Linked DNA regions of Homo sapiens: region 1 is linked to region 2. The links are contacts of gene promoters, found by promoter capture Hi-C in human tissues and cell types (Jung and others, 2019). All regions are on one chromosome and are shown on one strand. Each heading gives the region's core, a stretch centred on a gene start or on the middle of the fragment in contact. The rest is flanking DNA. Distances are from core to core; before and after follow the strand shown. Region 1 holds the start of DVL3 (dishevelled segment polarity protein 3). Region 2 has its middle 11 kb from the start of MIR4448.

Evidence for each region. Contacts are between HindIII fragments. The study calls those that stand out against the background at their distance.
Region 1: a contact is called between the fragment with the promoter of DVL3 here and a fragment that was not itself captured in region 2, in 1 of the 25 tissues and cell types used here (spleen).

Annotation. Positions count from the first base shown.
Region 1 is chr3:184,153,927-184,156,626 of GRCh38, reverse strand. DVL3 (dishevelled segment polarity protein 3) reads right to left here and starts at 1,250. Exons shown (of 15, transcript NM_004423.4): 1 at 831-1,250. The coding sequence starts at 991. RefSeq lists an enhancer at 1-666 and a silencer at 1,004-1,353. The HindIII fragment of the contact is 10,362 bases long and covers 1-2,700 here.
Region 2 is chr3:183,896,407-183,899,106 of GRCh38, reverse strand. It overlaps the pseudogene CYP2AB1P. Among named protein-coding and RNA genes, the nearest start is that of MIR4448, 11 kb to the right of the region's middle. The HindIII fragment of the contact is 5,560 bases long and covers 1-2,700 here.

The DNA of each region.
Region 1 (2,700 bases), core at 1-2,500, 260 kb before region 2:
CTGTGCCTGTCCAGATCTCTGCAGCTGGGTGGAAGGGAAGACCCCACCAGGGAGGGGAAGATAGAGAACACCAAGAAACTCTTCCTGGCTATCCCACCCAGGCCCCAGGCCCTTCCTAACGTCTCTCCACTGGCCACCAACTGGAGGAAAAAAGCCCGAATTGGAGGAAAGATCAGCACCTGGGTCAGTGAGGACTACTCCGCAGGGGTCAGGCTCTCTGTTCCGGTGACAACACCCACAACAGCCCACAAAGGAGAGGGCAGGCAGCTAGATAAACATCAGATCTGCAGACCCCGCTCGCGGCCAGGCGCCCGAGCACCCCCGACACCCCTCCCCCAGCTCAAAGTCCCAGCAGAGCCCTCAGATGCAGCATACTCCAAATATGGCTGGGAGCTGTGCTGCTGAAAAGATGAAGGGGGCGAAGAACGAGGGCCACACGACCCAAGTCTGTGCGGAAAAAGGTGGCTCTGGCTCCTCGGCAGGAGGAGGATGGGGGACTCGGGCTCTGAAACTAGGTGGAGGGGGGGTGTGTCTGTCTCTGTGGGCCACTGGTCTCTGAAGAGGTAAGGGGACCGCACCGGCAGGAACTCTGATTGCTAGTGGGGAATTGGACGTCCCCTTAAACAAGGGAGGCCAACGTCCCCTCTTCAGAGGTAAACGGGAGTTGCTACTGGGGCTGGAACCAAAGGGGCCCAAATGGGCCGAGTCGCCCCTAGAAGTCAGAGCGGGGCTAGGAGCCGGTGTAGCGAGGCAAGTCGAAACGGACCGCGTCATCCCTTAGAAGCCAGAGCGGCCGGGGCTCCCGGAGGCGGGGCGGGGGCCATCCTCACCCGAAATCGTCGTCCATAGACTTGAAGAAGAACTTATAGCTGGGTCGCTGCAAAACGCCCTTAAAGTCCGCCAAGGTGACGCGCTCGGCGGGCAGGGGCAGCTTCACAAGGTACGGCGTCTCCTGCCCATCCAAGTGGTAGATGATCTTGGTCTCGCCCATGGCTCTGGCCTCGGGCCCGGCGGCCCGCGCGCGGCCTGCTCGGGCGGCCGGGCCGAGCCTCCCAGACGGCGGCGGCGCGCGGCGCGGCCCAGCGGCTCAACCCAGCTCGGCGGCTGCTGGCGGCGCCAGCTCCCTTGTTCTCCGGCCGCTACCGGGTCCCAGCGCCGCCCGCCGCCGCCGCGGCCGCCGCTTCCGCTCCCCACTCTCCCGACTGGACTGGCGACCGCGACTCTTCCGGTGGCCGCGGCCCTCCCGGCCCAGGGCTTCGTCCGGGCCCGCTCCCCTCCTCCGGCCCGGCGCGGCCCCGCCCCGGCGCGCCCCGCCCCCGGCCGCCGCGGAGAGGCGCCGGCGTCGCGGCAGATGGCAGGGTTTCCCGCCCACTGGCCGGGCCGCGGCGCTCCGGTCCCGGGTCCCTAGAAACGGAAGGGGAGATTCACCGGGATGGCGGCGTTCCCGGACCCCTGAAGGCCCTGACTCCGGACCCAAGTGGGATCGGCGACTCCTCTGCAGTCCAGGAAGAGTGGAATGCAGGGATTGCTTTGGTCCCCAGAAATGGTCTGGGGAAAGAGGGTGGGTCTGACTCTGGATCCCTGGAGGAGAATGACCTCAACATGGCCCTTCAGTGTTTCTTGAGAAGCACAACTGCTGTCACTGAGTCTACTAAACTGATCTCGAGAGAAGGACAGCATCCAGTTCTGATTCCTCCCTATAACCTTAGCGTCCAGTTGCAAGGTAGTGGTTTAATAAATGGGTTGAATGCGGAATAAGTGGGGCCCGGGCGCGGTGGCTCACGCTTCTAATCCCAGCACTTTGGGAGGCCAAGGCGGGCGGATCGCCCGAGGTCGAGAGTTCAAGACCAGCCTGACCAACATGGAGAAACCCTGTCTCTACTAAAAATACAAAAAAATTAGCCGGGCGTGGTGGCGCATGCATGTAATCTCAGCTACTCGGGAGGCTGAGGCAGAAGAATCGCTTGAACACGGGCGGCGGAGGTTGCGGTGAGCCGAGATCGGTGAGTCGAGATCCTGCCTTTGCACTCCAGCCTGGGCAACAAAAGTGAAACTCCATCCCCCCTCGCCCCCCCCCAAAAAAAAAGATAAGTGGATGCATGCATGCCTAAGACAGTAAGTCTCAAACCAGAACTCCAGAACTAGGTATAGCCGGTTCCTCACAGATCTCCTCACCCCTTAACTTTTAATTCATTTAATAAATACTGAAGGCCTACTGTGTATAAGGCATATCGCATGAGATATAGCGATAGCGAGACAGACAAGGCTGCTCTCAGGACCTTCCCTCAGCTGGAGGGAAGCACATAGGCTTGTAAATACATAACTTCAGAGTGACCACTGCTATGAAGAAGGTAAAACAAAGTGATGGGATAGTGACAGGGGAAGCCAGGCGCAATGGCTCATGCCTGTAATTCCAACATTTTGGGAGGCTGAGGCAGGTGGATCACCTGAGGTTAGGAGTTCGAGACCAGCCTGGCCAAAATGGTGAAACCCCGTCTCTAGTAAAAATACAAAAATTAGCTGGACATGGTGGCGCATGCCTGTAGTCCCAGCTACTCGGGAGGCTGAGGCAGGAGAATCGCTTGAACCCGGGAGGTGGAGCTTGCAGTGAGCCGAGATCCCACCACTGCACTCCAGCCTGGGCGACAGAGCGAGACTCCGCCTCAAACAAAAACAAAAACAAAACAACCAAAACAAAAC
Region 2 (2,700 bases), core at 149-2,648:
TTTTTTTAATTTGTAGTAAAGACGGGGTTTCACCAGGTTGGCCAGGCTGGTCTTGAACTCCTGCCTCTGCCTCTCAAAGTGCTGGGATTACAGGCATAAGCCGCCATGCCCAGCCCCATTATTAACTTATTATTAATTTGCCCAGACTTGAGGTTCCTTCCTCCACAGATTTTTTTCTTCACAGAAGCCCTATCCTTCGGACGCTTTGTTGCTGTTTCTTTTCCATAGATAGAGAAACTTCAGCATAGGCAGCTTAAGAAACTGCCCAAACACAGCTAGTAAGTGACTTAGCTGAGTTTCAAATGCATGTCCCTCTGACTCTAAAGTGTTTTCTTTTCCTACCATATGCCCTGCTGTTTGTATTTATACGAAAATGCCACTCTAGGTAAGTGAACCAATGTGTTCAATGGAGATGTTTTACACTGTCATTCTGTCCTTGGCAGAAATTGGCCAGCAAGTTTACAGGTTTGTCAAGAGTCTCTGGGAAAGTGGATAGGACCAGGGCATCAGGTCATCTTGCTGCTGGCGTGGCAGAAGGACCCAGGCCCAGGTTGTCTAGAAGCTGTGCCAACTTAAGTTAAAAAGAGGGGGCCAGGGTACTGCTCTGTGTTATGCCGTTTGGGATTAGAAATTTCCTTATTAAGAGCTCATTCCTGCCAATTTGATTCTAGGACTTGTTCTGTGATAAAGGCTCCAGGGGCCCATTAACGAGCTGAAATCAATATTGAGCTTTTACAACTTGGACGAGAGATGTCTGCTGAAAGTGGAATCAAAGCTTGACAGTAGATCATTAAATGTTACAGATATTCCTAAACTGTTCCTAACCATTTCATCAGCTGAGTGATCGTGACAACAGCAATAGTCCCTGATACGACGGTTGCACTTCCAGCCTGTCTCTCTTCTCAGACATTCTATTTGATTGCGAATTCCAAATTGCCATTTACTGGGCAGAAGCTGGCACAGCGACCCCAGGAGGTACCCAGCAGGTAGATGGTTCTACAGTCTGGGGAAGTGGAGGGCGGTTGTTGCGGGGGGCGGGGCGCTGTCCTTTTTGCATACTGGATAGGCTGTGCTCTGAACCTGTTCCATGAGCTGAGAACCTCCTTTGCAAGGAGGCCAGAACATCACCCAAAAAAGGACACAAATAATTCTGGAGGGAAAAGAGCATCTTGCTAGGAGCCTCCTCCTCTGAAGGTGATTAGTAAGAACCGTTGCAATGCAGAGGTTACTTAATCCCAGGTAGAGAAAATGGGGGAATTCCCATGACTAGAACTGGGAAATCTATAGCTCACTCAGGCAGCAGCAAGAACACAGGCCTCCCCAACACCTCTGCTTGAAGCTACAGAGTGAGCAAGTCTGGGTGCCCTATTGGTACACATGGCTAGGATGAGGCACCTTGCCTAAGCGTGCCGTACTGCAACAACGGCAAAAAAGAACAATTTCCCCTGAAAACAATTTCTGCATTCTGTTTTTTTTTTTGTTGTTGTTGTTTTGTTTTTTTAGATGGAATCTTGCTCTGTCGCCCAGGCTGGAATGCAGAGGCGTGATCTTGGCTCACTACAACCTTTGCCTGCCTCAGCCTCCCGAGTAGCTGAGACTATAGGCACTTGCCACCACGCCCGACTAATTTTTGTATTTTTAGTAGAGATGGGGTTTCACCGTGTTGGCCAGGCTGGTCTCAAACTCCTGACCTCAAGCGATCCGCCCTGATTGGCCTCCCAAAGTGCTGGGATTACAGGTGTGAGCCACTGCGACCAGCCAGCATCTGCTGCTCCATTTCTGCATTCTTTATTGGTTTCTGTTTAGAATGCAGGCTTCAAACTCGCTAAGCTTTTTTTTTTTTTTTTAATTTCAAGCTTTTTCTTTGGTCAGAATCAAGAATTCTGTAGTCAGCCCTCTGGTCTCTACAGGGATAGCTGGTTTAATTTTGTGGTATTTGGTAAATGAGCCCTGGGGTATGAGGCCTTCCCCGGAATCCCAGAGCTGAGTGTTCTAGGGCTGGGGACCATAACCGACCCCATCCTGGCTCCACTTTGGCCTCCTTATGCTGTTTCCGGTCAGCCCAGGGCCCACATGGTAAGGAGCAGATGTTACCCTGCTCCCATCTGCTTGGTCTGATTCTCTTTCTAATCACTCACTTCTCCTTTGAGATAGAGTGAGGGCTGAGGTGAGGGTGAGAGGGAAGATTTGGGTTTGGGTTTGGGGGAAGGTGAGGGTTGGGGTTAGGTTGAAGGTTAGAGTTGGGCTTATGGTTCATGTTTTCCTCTCCCCAACCCTAAAGAGTGAAGCTTGCTGTCTCCTCTCTGTCTTTCCATCACTCAGTTCCTCTTTCTCTGCTTGTTTGCCATTCCATTTCTCCTCGTTCTGTCTCTTCCTCTTAACACCCACGTGTGCACACATCCCCTGCCCCAGTGTGTATTGTCCTGGGCTGTCCTTGGCCCCTTCCAGACATGCCCCCAGCTGTTGGCCTTCTCTGTAGGAGGCAATGGCTTCATGTCCCTAGACGTGGCTGGGAGTCTTCAGGACAAAGCTGGGCAGTCCTTAGCCAGGAGGGTGTCCTGCTCAGCTCCTTCACTGATGTGAGCCTGGAGGAAGGGCAGCCTGAGGGCCGGCTGCTGAGTCTCCTCAAGGCCCCTGGACTACTCCCACCAACACACTGGGTATTCTCCAAGCTCACTGTGGCTCAGTGTCAGGGCTGGG